2 separate regions of the Homo sapiens genome follow, and region 2 is linked to region 1. Evidence: promoter capture Hi-C in human tissues and cell types (Jung and others, 2019). All regions are on one chromosome and are shown on one strand. Each heading gives the region's core, a stretch centred on a gene start or on the middle of the fragment in contact. The rest is flanking DNA. Distances are from core to core; before and after follow the strand shown. Region 1 holds the start of PTPRR (protein tyrosine phosphatase receptor type R). Region 2 overlaps KCNMB4 (potassium calcium-activated channel subfamily M regulatory beta subunit 4).

Region 1 (6,845 bases), core at 666-3,165:
ATAAATAAAACTCAACCCAATGTGTATGTTTTCATCCCACATTTCAGCATTGAAGAATTGTATGTGGTAACGAAATAATTCACTACAGCTGTTTGCAAATAATTTAATAATCAAGTCATAGCTATTTTCTACTTCTCAAAATGTGCCAAAGAACTATTGAAAACTCCACAATATAACATCATAATTATAACAATTAACATGTGTATTTAATAATAGCTTTAATAATCCTATGCATTATTTGCTCAAAAGATTCATGATACATTTAAATAATAGCGTTAGCTGGAATAAGAAAGTACCATATTTCACTCCTACTATTGTACACAGAGAATAAAATTCACCCACTCTTTTAAAAAAGATACTGCAAGGATTGTAATTTCAGAACAATTATTTTTACTCATTACCCCTAGAACATAGTATACACTCAGCAAATGTTGCTTGAAGGAATGAATGGATATGTGTGATTGGATGAGAAGCACACTCAGGGAAAATGCCTCGTCTCTGGTTGTTACAGGACTACTGCATGGACAACTGCTGTCACAGTAGGGTTTCTAAAATCTCCCTGCCATATTTTATTTTGGTTCATGTGTGTGTGACAATGATAAGGAATTCAGCCTAGCAAGTCTGTCTGCATTAAATAGAGGTGCTATGTATGCAAAAAGCAGGGACACCACATATAATATCTCTCAGGTACTTCCCAAGGTTTGCTTCCTCACGAGACTTGATATTGATTCTGGTGCCTCAAATCTATTTATATTTGGGAGCAGTCTCACTGTTACTCTTGGTTACACCTTATCAAATCTGTCCGAGGGACAGTGCCTAACCCAGGGTTGTCAGCTTTGGAACTGTAATTGTTTTTTTTTTTTTTTTTTTTTTTTTTTTTTTTAATATGCCAGCGGACGCTAGCCACGGTGCTGAAAGAGACAAGAGGATTCTATTTGAAACCTTTTCTTCCTCTTATTGGCTTAGAAAATTCGAGTGACAAGAGCAGGGGCCAAAGGAGCCTGGTGCAGCATCACTAATGTGAACCATGTATTTCGATCTTTTGGGCGGAGATGTGGTCCATCAGGTTACAGCCAATGCCTTCCTATGAGCGCTCGCTAGACCAAGAGACCTTATGAATGTAGTAGCCGCTGCAGTAGAAAAGGTTACATCTAGCAGGATGTCTTATCCCTCTCCTGAAAAATTGACAGTTAAGTGCATAGCCTAGAAACAAGAGCAGGGAATCTAGACGGAGGGGAGGCGAAGGGGGGAGCAAACCTGTATTCATATTGAAAATGTTCACTATTTTCGTATAAAGTAAAGAAAAATCAAGAGCTAATTTTAGGTTAAGTTTTCGGCCTCAGTTTTCCAACAGGTGCACGACTCCCTCACCCCTTCCCTGTCAGGTACTGTCCTGTTTTACCTTTTTAGAAAGGCTTTCTTCGCAAGGCAAGCTTTTCCTAGAGTCCTTAAGCATGTGCAGTTTCCCATCTCATGCACAGCTCCGGCTCTAAGCCTGGCAACCCCTTACCTGCAGCGTGAAGATTAAGGAGCAGGCACAGCGCAGGGAAGCAGACTGCTCTCCGCATAGTGTTTGCATTGAGAGGTGGAGGAGAAACTCCACCACGACCCCACTTCAGGTAAAGTGCTATTAGAAAGAGCCACCGCCAAGGGTCTTCTAGTCTCCGGGATTCAGGTCCTCGGCTGGGGTTTGCAGAGCAGTCAGTCTGTGGCGCCGACAGAAACCAGCACCAGCTTCAACCTCCCTAAGAGAGGGAGAGAGGAAGAGCAGTAGGAGGTTGCGGGTAAGGGGAACAGAAGCGCTCAGAGGCGGCAAATGCCTGGCCTTCTGGACGCCCAGAAGCCAAGGCGGAGACGGCAGGGTGGACTCCGCGCCAGCCCAGCAGCCCAGCAGCAGCGCCGCGGCTACTGAGCATGCCCAGCGCCGGCCCTCACGAGGCAAGGGAATTTCAAAGTGAAATTCCGCTTCTCCGGGTCTTAGCGGCGGCTTGGAGCAGAGTAGGCTCCATCGCTGGGGTGGTGGTTGGGGGTGGGGGTGGGGGTGGGGAAGGGGGAAGTGCGGGGGAGACACTTGCTGTGGTTACTAGGGACCCAGCGTCCATCACAAATCCGAAGGTGGGGTGTAGCTGAGTGAGAGTAGATGGGGGCACGACCACAGGAGTCAGAGGAGGGAGCTGATGACATTGTCAACCATGCCACCCACCCTACTCTTTCCCCAAATCTTGATTTACACGTGGACCGAGCTCACTGCTGGGAATTGGCATTTGCAGATTGACCAGCTTCCCAGGACTCGCCTACAGGAATAGAGGTGTCTTCCACTGCTGAGCATTCTGGCTGCTCGGGGGAAGCGTTCCCAAGGCAGCTTGCTTGGTGTAAGCAGTAACCATGTATCTTGGGGGTGACTTCGTCCTTCCTACAGCTTCCCCCTCTTTGCTTCTCTTTCCACTCTTTCCAGCTCAATGACTGTATTTAAACTTTCTTCTGACTCAAGTCCTCACAGTGACAGAAAGAAGTGAGAAGATACTTTTAGACTAGTAGAATATATCCATGTAATTGAAGCACAAGAAGGCACCTTTTTGTTTCGTGGAGGTAATTAACTTTAGTTTCCCTTTTACTCTTTAAGGTGAAAGATAATGGATCACGTCAGTGCCTGGACTCATCCGGCCCAGCTCTGTGTCTCTAGGGAGGCTACCACAGTCTGCCATTAGATGGTTTTTTATCCCTCCATCTAAGTCTTTGGAGTGTGGAAAGCCTTATTAGTCATGGCTAATTGCTGCTAGTCAAGTCAAGAAGTCCCTCAGCTAGACTTCTCTTTTAACTATCCCAGGGCCTCTGCCCTTTCTGCCTCTGTGTCTTTATGGACACTGTTGCCTCTTTCCCATTTTCCTCCACTTGCACCACCACCACACTAGTTTTCGAAGGTGTAATGTTGGTCTCACTTTTCCAGAAAGCCCTAACTCTAACTAACTCTAGATTACAGTGATCTTTCTCTTCCACAACACTTGTTTAGCCGTGCCTCATATTATTCTTTCAGACAGTTCATTTATCTGTGGTTTGTTCTACAGCACATTGAAGTCTCCATAAGAACTGCTGAGTTTTGTATTCCATTAACTTGAATAAAGTTGTCCTAGCCAAATAATTGGGGCTAACAAGTGCCCATTGAGTTGAGCTGCACATCTCATTCAGTGCTTTCTTTCTCCATCCTCTGTGAATTGAGACAACTAATGGGAAATAGGCTATCCACCAGAGCTTAAATTAGGTGGGACCTTATAAGATCAGAGAGCCCAGGCGGTACCATTTATTTCTTTTATGATTTATGTCATCTTCAGCTCTGAGAGACAAGGCCAGGAAGCACTCCAACAAGTGGGAGAAGGGGACAATGAGATGTACTTTTAATATCTTGACAGGCCTTCTCTGCTGAAAATAGAGACATATCTCCATGTCTAGCCCCTCTCTAGCAACGTGCTCCACCCCCTACTCCCCCATGCGTGTGGCACACTCCATTTCTGTGGCACTATCATTTCATCCCAAACCACTCTAAGCTGCAACCTCTTCTCCTATTCCTGATTCACTGTCCTCCAGTTTGCTTTTCCCGTATCACTTTCTAACAAACCAAAATAATTACTTATAAAATCTATTGTTTAGTATCTATTTCCCTACTCCCCCCCGCAAAACAGAATTTGAGCTCCAATGTTGAAGAACTTTGATGACTTTATTGATATGTCCCAACTCCCTAGAGCAATGCCTCATGCAAAATAGATACTCAAAAATGAATAAATGAAAATGATAGTTGACAAAGTTCAATACTGACAATTAACTCTTTGAAATTCTTACTGAGTCAACCTTTGAGATAATTTATTTAGCATTCTGTAAAGCTTAGAAGAATAACTCTTCTCATCTAACATCTGTTACTAGAAATGCTGCAGGGCTGGAGGTTAGGGAAAAATAATTGTATCCCACTTACAATAGGTCTATTTTTCTTATTTTCTTGTTTCCTAAAATAACTAATTATCAAACTTACATAGATCTCCAAGAATAAAATATACTTACTTATGGTAATGAAACAATGCTGCAGTAATGTTCTGAACCCCTTCCTTTTCCACAGATAATTCCAACATTTATTGGTGGGGCATTTAAAATTCCCATTATTATAATTGACTATGACTTTGCCAAAAAGCATCCTGCTGGCAATGTATTTTGTTCAGGGCTGCAGGTAGCTGAATTGTTAAACTATGCATGAAAATTCCGTTAGCAGCAAAAATTTCCAATTTCCAATTTGGCTGGATATATCATTAGAATAGTTAGTTCAGCATGGTAAAAATAACCCTGAGTGGGCTGTAATTTTGGTGACTAGACATTCATTATTAATTTACTTAGAAATGATAAAGTAACGAAAAAGGTCATATTCCTATGTGAGTCAATCTAATATCATACTTGTAACGGCTTCAATTCACTTTTTCACTAATTGGCTAATTCACTCATTGCTGTTCGTGAAGTCAAACAGCAATGAATGAATTAGCCAATTAGTGAAAAAGTCAACCACTTAACTCATACAGAAATATTCTGAGTCGATAGGTGCTGTTTTTCCTTAACTGTGATCTAATGCTAGTGAAGGTGACTTGGTGTTTTGGAAAAAAAGCTTGGTTAAAACACTGCATCAGGGTTTTAAAAAGTTAGCTGTAATTCAAAGAAGCATGGAAATTACTATGAGAGAACTATACAAATTAGTAGTGGCCTACAGAGCTATGTCATAAAAGAATCATTTACATTTTACAAGATAAATAAAAAATATCATATGGAATTTTCCTCCACATAAGATGCATAATTTCTTTTTCTTATGAGGTGAGTCTTAGAGAAAATTTATGCAAGAAAGAAGCTTTTCAGAGCCTGCCTTCAAAACAGATTTAATCATTATGAGCATCCATATTTACTTCTCTATAAATGGATGAAAATTATTCATGTCAGCCATCTTTCCTTAAGACACTTTAAATTGAGAAATCAGATCCATTGATTATAAGGATCTCCTACTTAAGTTATTTAGATTACTATTATTTAAGTATAATTATGGCTAACATTGACTGTGCTTCCTGTGTGCCAGGTTCTATTCTAAGCATTTGGATGTCCTATTTAAACATTATAATATTTCTACAAAAGGATACTATAATGATCTCATTTTAGAGATAATATAGTTGAGGCATGGAGAAGTAACTTGCCCAAAATCAAGTAGTAAGTAATCAGTTAAAAAGTAAATTGATAGAATTAAGATGTACATCTGATAATTTGATACCAAACCACTATATTATACTACCTCTAATAACACACACACACACACACACACACAGACACACACACACTCAGTTGTAGGTTGCTCACTAGAATTAGATGATTAGATCAGGGCTGGGCATGAGATGCCTGGCCCCACAGTAAAGCTCTGTGTTGAGGAACACTCATAGAAGACTGTCTCCAGGAGAACAAGAGACACTGCTTGTGGCAGTGGACTCTGGGCCCTAGCATCTAGTGAACAAAGACAGCAAGTAAAATCATGCTTAGAGGAACTGTGTTAGAAAGATGCTTAAGATAGAATGGAGAAGAATGGAGGAAATGATTTCTTCTATGGAGGGTGGGAGCAGAGGAGGGGATGGGCAGCAGGCAAGAAACTGGTGGGCAACAGGAAACGAACTGAGTCTGGCTGGATAAGTAGGTTCTAACTGCTCTACATGAAGAGAAAGGCCAGGGAATTGTGTGAGCCAGTGGCAGAGATATAAAGCAGCAAAATGGATTCAAGGAACTTCTGAACATGTAAGGGAGCAATAGGTAACAGTTATAAACACCTCACTAAGATTTGTTCTGTGCTTGCCCTTTCCCATCCTTTATGCAGCCACTTTATCAATCCCAAAGTCTGTTTCCTTTTGTCTGAGAGCTATCTTTTATAAGAGGAGAAAAGAAGAAAAATAATTTCTTTTTACAAAGTAAATAATTGATGTGAATTAAGCTATATTCAGAGTGGAATATAGCTCAGGATGAAAAGGAATGAATTCAAAATTCACAGATGAAAATACCATGTTCAGGTATATAAATTCACCATTATTATTTTTTAGTATTTTCCCAACCATAACAAGAAGAATGATCTACCCTTTCTCATAAGCATACAGTGAAGAGAACAATGAAATTGCAAGGGGCAATAAGAATAGGGGAGGAAAAGCACTAAAATTCTAAAAATATATATTATCACATTGAAGTCTCACAAGAGCTGTGTGAAGTATTATTTTTTTTTTTTTTTTGTAGTAGAGGAGAAAACTGAAGCTCAGCGAAGCTAGTAATTTGCCTATAGCCATCCAGTTGGTAAGTGGTGAAGCTGGGATTAGAACTCAGGTATGGTGACCCCTAGCACTATGCTGTTATCAGCTGTATTGTACAACATCCCTGCTTAATGACCGAACTTATTTTAATACTTAAATTGAAAACAGTGTTCTTATCCCAAGACACAGACTTCAAGATGGATAACAACAATTACATTTTATAACTTAACACAGTTGTAGTTTTGTTAAATTAAAGCATTTGATACACACACACAAAGGCAGCAATATGTATCCTAAGGAAAAAAATTAGGTACCTAAAACAAGGCAGATATACTTTTCTGTGCATATGTGAATTATGCTATTGTAGTAAAACATAAAATATGAAAAGCAGAAAGGCTATATGTACCTATAGATTCTGCTATTGGTTCATCATTAAAATTTTATTCAAAACGAAGAACAAAGTTTTCTTGGAGCTAGCCCTTGGTACCAATGTATTGTATTGTCATCTATTCTGGCACTGCAAAGGTCAGATTCATCCAAGATGTC
Region 2 (7,473 bases), core at 2,916-5,415, 540 kb before region 1:
TGTTAGCAGGCATGAAAACAACATTAATCTCCTCATACATCTCCATCAGAGCTCTTGGGTGATGAGGTACACTGTCAGTTAGCAGTAGTATTTTGAAAGGAATCTTTTTTTCTGAACAGTAGGTCTCAACAGTGGGCTTTAAATATTCAGTAAACCATGCTGTAAACTGATGTGCTATCATCCAGGCTTTCTTGTTCCATTTCTAAAGCACAGGCAGAGTAGACTTAGCACAATTTTTAAGGGCCGTAGGATCTTTGAAATGGTAAATGAGCACTGGCTTCAGCTTAAAGTCACCAGCTACACTAGCCTCTAACAAGAGTCAGCCTGTTCTTTGAAACTTTGAAGCCTGGACTTTATAGCTATGAAAGTCCTAGATCTTCTTCCAATAGAGGGCTGTTTCATCCATGGTGAAAATCTGTTGTTTAGTGTAGCCACCTTTATAAATTATCTAAGCTAGATCTTCTAGATAACTTGCAGCTTCTACATGAGCACTTGCTGCTTCACTTTGCACTTTTTTTTTCTTTTTGAGACAAGGTCTGGCTGTCACCCAGGCTGGAGTGCAGTGGTGTGATCTCTGCTCACTACAACCTCCACCCCAAGCTCAAGCCATCCTCCCACCTCAGCCTCCCAAGTAGCTAGGACTACAGGTGCACTCTACCACACCTGGCTAATGTTTGTATTTTTTGTAGAGATGGGGTTTGGCCATGTTTCCCAGGCTGGTCTTGAATTTGCTCAAGTGATCTGCCTTCTTCTCCCTTCAGAATGCTGGGATTACAGGCATGAGCCACCATGCCCAGCCCATTTTGCACTTTTATGTTATGAAGATGGCTTCTTTTCTTAAACCTCATGAATGAACCTCTGTTAGCTTCTGTAGCTTCCTCACTTCTGGCAGCCTTCATAAAATTAAAGAGGGTAGAGCATTGCTCTGGATTAGGCTTTGGCTTAAAGAAATGTTGTGGCTGGTTTGATCCTCTATCCAGACCACTAAACCTTTCTCCATATCAGCAATAAGGCTGTTTCACTTTCTTATCATTCGTGTGTTCACTAGAGTAGCACTTTGAATTTTTTTGCAGAAGCTTTTCCTCTGCATTCACAACTTGGCTGTTTGGCAGAAGAGGCCTACCTTTCAGCCTGTCTCAGCTTTTGATGTGCTCTCCTCATTAAGCTTAGTCATTTCTAGTTTTTAATTTAGAGTGAGAGACAATGACTCTTCCTTTCACTTGAACACTTAGAGGCTGTTGTAGAGGTATTAATTGGCCTAATTTCAATATTGTTTTGTTTCAGGAATAGAGAGGCCCCAGAAGAGGTAGAGAGACAGGGGAACAGGTGGTTGGTGGAGCACTTAGAACACTCACACATTCATTGATTAACTTTGTCCTCATATGGGCATGGTTTGTGGCATCCCCAAAGCAATTATAATAGTAACATCAAAGATTACTGATCACAGATCACCATAACAGATATAATAATCATGAAAAGTTTGAAATACTGTGAAAATTACCAAAATGTGGCACAGAGACATGAAGTAAGTGCATGCTGTTGGAAAAAATGGTGCCAATGGACTTGTTCTCAGGGTTGCCACAAACCTTCCATCTGTAAAAGAATGCAATATCTGCAAAACACAATAAAGCAAGCAATAAAACGAAGTGTGCCTGTACAACAAAGCTACAGTACTCAGGACTGTGTGATACTGAATAAGGATGGACCTACCAACCTATGGAATAGAACTGAGAGTCCAAAAAAAAAAAAAAACCTATACATCATGGACGGTTGATTTTTGACAAGAGTGTCAAGAGCATTCAATAGGGAAAGAACAGTCTTTTCAATCAGTGGTGCTTGAACAGCTGAATATCCACATGCCAAGGAATGAAGTTGAACTCTGATTGCACATTAAAATAATGGATGGGAGACCTAAATATAAGTGCTAAAACTTTAATGCTTGAATATGATACTAAAAGCACAAGCAACTAAAGGACAAATAGATATGTTGGACTTAATTAAAATTAAAAACATTTGTGCTTCAAAGGACACCATCAATAAAATGAAAAGACAAGTGTAACAGAAAGAAAATATTTGCAAATAATGTATCTGATAAGTGTCTAGTACCAAGAAAATAATGAAGAATGCTTACAACACAACAAGACAAATAATCCAATTTAAAAGTGGGCAAAGGATGTGAATAGTTTTTTTTTTTCCAAAGAAGGTATCCAAATGGCCAATGAGCACATGAAAAAATGTTTGACATTTTTAGTCATGAGGGAAATGAAAATCAAAACCCCAATGAAATACCACTTCAGATCCATTAGAATGGCTGTAAAAAAGACAATAACAAGTGTTGTCAAAATAAATTGGAATCTTCATACAAGAATGTAAGAATGAAAAAGATAACAGCCACTTTGGAAAACAGTTTGACAGTTCCTCAAAACGCTAAACAGTTGCCATGTGACCAAGCAACTTTTTCCTAATTATATATCCAAGAGAAACGAAAACATGTCCATGCAGAAACTTTGTACATGACTCTTCATAGCAGCATTATTCATAATAGCTAAAAGGTGGAAACAAACCAAACATCCATCAACTGATGAATGGATAAATGAAATATGCTAATTCATACAATGGAAAATTACTTGGCTGTAAAAAGAATGAAGTGTTAATACAATATGGATGAACTTCAAAAATATGGTAAGTATAGGAAGCCAGCCACAAAAAAACACACGTTATATGAGTCCATTTACAGGAAATGTCCAGAATAAGGAAGGAAATCTATAGAGACTGAAAGTAGATTAGTGGTTGCCTAAAGCTAGAAGGCATGGGAAGATTGGGAATGACAGCTAAAGGGTACAGGGGTCTTTTTGGTGTAATGAAAACATTCTAAAATTGATTGTGATGATTGTTGCACACCTCTGTGCAATCTACTAAAAACCATTAAATTGTACACTTTTAATGGGTAAATTGGATGGTATGTGAATTATATTTCAATAAATCTCTTGCCCAAAAAATAATAATGAATGATTGCTTTGCAAATTTCAGCATTTCAAATAACTTGTAAAGCAATGTATTATTCAGCAAGTGGTGTTAAAACTGCCTATTATTTTTTGGAAATAAATTTTAAAAAACTAATTTTCTAAATTTAAAAACTTGTTTGGAAAATACTAGGAATCATCAAAATGTTATTTGGAAAATATTTACTTAGAAATATACATCTAATTAAAATTAAAATTTTAGTTTTGATGGAATAAAATTTTAAAGGTGGCCGGGCGCGGTGGCTCACGCCTGTAATCCCAGCACTTTGGGAGGCCGAGGCGGGCGGATCACGAGGTCAGGAGATCGAGACCACGGTGAAACCCTGTCTCTACTAAAAATACAAAAAATTAGCCGGGCGCAGTGGCGGGCGCCTGTAGTCCCAGCTACTCTGGAGGCTGAGGCAGGAGAATGGCGTGAACCCGGAAGGCGGAGCTTGCAGTGAGCGGAGATCGCGCCACAGCACTCCCGCCTGGGCGACAGAACGAGACTCCGTCTCAAAAAAAAAAAAAAAAAAAAAAAAATTTAAAGGTACAAAAATAAATTATGAAAGTACTAAATAAAATTTGGGTAAATATATATTTTATACATTAATATTGTATATATGGGGTGGGCAAAGCTTTTCTAAACATGTAGCAAGGACAGAAATCATAAAGGAATACACTGATTAATGATATAATAAGGGAAAACTTACACATTTTTTTGAACATTAAAATTGAAGGAAAAATGATAAATTTGGACAAATGTTTGCAACATGGTGGGGAAATGATTAAAAAGTCAACATATGAAGTACTCTTAGCAATAAAAGACCATCTCTTCAGTAAAATACTAGGCATGAACATGCGTAGGCAGTTCAGTAAAGAATTACAAATAAAAACATGAAAAATATGTGGTATCTCACTAAAAATCAAAGAAATACAGTCGTTCATTGTTTAAGGTGATTTTGTCCTGTGAACATCATAGAGTGTACTTACACAAACCTAGATAGTATAGCCTACTACACACCCAGGCTATATGATATAGCCTATTGCTCCTAGGCTACAAACCTGTACTATGAGTGTACTGAATACTATAGGCAGTTGTAGCAGAATGGTAAGTTTTTGTGTATTTAAACATAGAAAAGGTACAGTAAAAATACAGTATTATAATCTCATGAGACCACAGTCATAAATGCAGTTCATCATTGACTGAAATGTCATTATTCAGCACAGGACTGTACTAATCAGATCATAACTATGTAAGGTGATGGACGTGCTAATTAGATTGTGGCAGTTATTTCACAACGTACACATATATCAAAACATCACGTTATATACCTTAAATATGTGCAATTTTTATTTGTCAAGTATATTTCAGTAAAGCTAAGGGGAAAAAAGAAATATTAATTAATGCAATGTTGAGATACCTTTTCTGCCTATCAAGTTGGTACATATTAAATTGGTGGCAATATGGGGATGTGGGCAGTCTTGTGCACTGCTGGTGGCAACATGTTGCAGGAGCAATTGCATGTCAACTTGGAAATACATATCAAAATCCTGAAAAATACATGTCTTAGGGTCTTAGGGCTGCCATAACAAAGTACTACAAACGAGGTTGCTTAACTCAACAGAGATTTATTTGTCCACAGTTCTGAAGTCTGTAAGTCCAAAATCAAACAGGTCCATGCTCCCCTGAAGGCTCTAGAAAAACACCCTTCCTTGCCTCTTCCTAGCAATGGTTGTTTCCTGCAATCCTTGCATTCCTTGGCCTGCAGTTGCATCACTCCAGTTGCTGCCTCTGTCTTCACATGGCCTTTTTCCCTCTGTATGTGTCTCCGTATCCCTTTCTTCTTTCTCTTATAAAAACACCAGTACAGCCAGGTGCGGTGGCTTACGCCTGTAATCCCAGCACTTTGGGAGGCCAAGTTGGGTGGATCACTTGAGGCCAGGAGTTTGAGACCAGCCTGGCCAACATGGTGAAACCCTGTCTCTCCTAAAAACATAAAAATTAGCTGGGCTTGATGATGTGCACCTATAACCCCAGCTACTCAGGAGGCTGAGGCAGGAAAATCACTTGAACCCAGGGGGCAGAAGTTGCAGTGAGCCGAGACCGTGCCACTGCATTCCAGCCTGAGTGACAGAGCAAGATTCCATCTCAAAACAAACAAAAAACACCAGTCATTGAATTTAGGGCCTACTCTAATCCACTGTGACCTCATCTTAACTAATTCCATCTGCAAGACCCTATTGTGTTCATGTAAATTGAACATTTTTATATGAAAAAAGACTATATACAAAGATCAAAGATAAATGACAAAATGGAAAAAATGCACACCATAAATACGATTTTTGACCACCTGTAGCTTCTAAATTTCTCCAATAAAGAAGGCTTATTTTTGTGAGAGAAAACTGAGAACTGTTACTTTAAAATAAATGCTCTGTGAAACACAAGAGACTAAATATTACAATGGAGAGGATCGATGTATTAAGATAAAACTACCTTCTTACAAAACCATGCTGTTTTACTTAAATACCCCTCTCCCATCCCAACTTGTCACCACGATAATGAATGACTGAAAAGGCCTCTCACAGTCCCCGTTGGGGAAACACCTCGGGATTCACTAACAGAGTCTAGGACAGAGCTGGGCACATAGACATTTGAGAAGCTACCTGGTATAATGGAAAACGCCAGTCTAAGTGTAGTGGCTCATGCCTGTAATCCCAACACTTTCAGAAGTCAAGGTGAAAAGATAATTTGAGGAGAGGAGTTTGAGGCCAGCCTAGACAACATAGTGAAACTCTGTTTCTAAAACAATTTTTTTTTAATTAGCCAGGCATGGTGGTACACACCTGTAGTTCTAGCAAGACGGTAGGATCGCTTGAGCCCAGGAGTTTAAGGTTACAGTGAGCTATGACTATGTCGCTGTACTCCAGCCTGAGCAACACAGTGAGACCCTGTCTCAAAAAAAAAAAAAAAAAAAAAAAGAAGAAAAAGAAAGAAAAGGCCCATGTGCCTGAATCTAGATGCTCCCTATTTAAAGGTGAACATCTATAGGTCAGTCACTTAACCTCTTGATCAAGAAACCTTTACAAGCTGAGGACTATAGATGATATATATAATGTTCCAAGCAGATATTATTGATAAATACTTCTGGAATAAATACATCTTGGTATTTGTATTTGTAGTTACTGAGGTGTCAAGCGGGGGGAATTTCACAGATGAGGACAGAGTTTAGGGACTTTGTCACAAACTTCAGAATTGTTAGTTCAACAAATGTTTATTGGGTATCTGCCATGTTACAGGCCCTATCCTAACTGCTGTGAATGCTGTCTGATTCACAAAACCCCTCCTGGGTTGGAGCTTTCTTTCTGGCACAGTCTCTGGAGGACATCACACAGTGTTGTGGTGGGGTGCATTTACTCTTGGATTTGAGAGCATCTACCTCCTCAATCTGTTGAGCTTTCTTTCATCTAGCTTTATCTCCCATGTCCCTGTGATGTACTGAATATTTTCTTCGGTTAATGTCAAACACCTTTCCCTTCAATGTTTTTAATGAACATTTATTTGATTTTGCATAAGAGTTGGATAGAAAATTAATAGCACAACTTTATAGCCTTGAAATTTTTCAGGGCTTCAAAATTCCCATTGAAGATATGCTGAGCATCTTCAACGAGTGCAGAATTGTCTTTATTTTTGGAAAGATAAATTCAGTTATGAATCCTCAGCAAGTTTAATTGCCAAAGAAATGTTCTTCAAAAATACAAAATTAGAAACAAAAATGAGGAAACAACCACAAATACAGGAAAAGTTAAATGAACTTCAAGTGAATACTTCGATCAATTCTATGCCAATAAATTTGAACTCATAGGATGAGATAATGATTCTTAGGATAATATAAACTTCCCAAATAAAACAATCTATAGAGATTTCTAAAAAATAGACCAATTACCATAGAGGAAATGGAGAAAGCTGTCAACGAACTACAACTGTAAATGTTTCCAGGTCAACTCTGTGAAAACAGGTAACTTTAATCCTACTTTGAACTATGCCAGAGAAACAGAAATAAGGAAAACTTCCAAATTCTTTTCATATATTTATGATTACATTGAAACAAAAACCTATAATAACATATATATACAGATGAAAGTTACAGGACAGCTTCTCTTCAAGAATATTTACTTAAAATCCAAAATGAAATTAGTAATCTCAGTGATGACGGTATCAGAGGTTTCTAAATTTTATTTTTGCTTATCTCTATTTTCTAAAAACCTTTTTCAGACAGTCACATACCTCATCTTGTAAGTCTGAGGCATTGTGATAGTGGAGATCTTGTTTCAGAGATTACAATATATGTTTTTATAGATAATGGGTCTGTCTTCAAAGTGGGTCTAATTATATAAATTTTCACAGATTGATTTCATAAAAATTAATTTTTTTATGTAGTAAATGTACCACAAATAAAGACAAGAAAAA

Evidence for each region. Contacts are between HindIII fragments. The study calls those that stand out against the background at their distance.
Region 2: a contact is called between a fragment that was not itself captured here and the fragment with the promoter of PTPRR in region 1, in 2 of the 25 tissues and cell types used here (pancreas and sigmoid colon).

Annotation. Positions count from the first base shown.
Region 1 is chr12:70,918,823-70,925,667 of GRCh38, forward strand. It overlaps PTPRR (protein tyrosine phosphatase receptor type R), which reads right to left and starts at 1,916. Exons shown (of 14, transcript NM_002849.4): 1 at 1,511-1,916. The coding sequence starts at 1,568. The HindIII fragment of the contact is 3,890 bases long and covers 368-4,257 here.
Region 2 is chr12:70,378,913-70,386,385 of GRCh38, forward strand. The region is part of intron 1 of KCNMB4 (potassium calcium-activated channel subfamily M regulatory beta subunit 4); the gene reads left to right. Among named protein-coding and RNA genes, the nearest start is that of KCNMB4, 16 kb to the left of the region's middle. The HindIII fragment of the contact is 3,527 bases long and covers 2,403-5,929 here.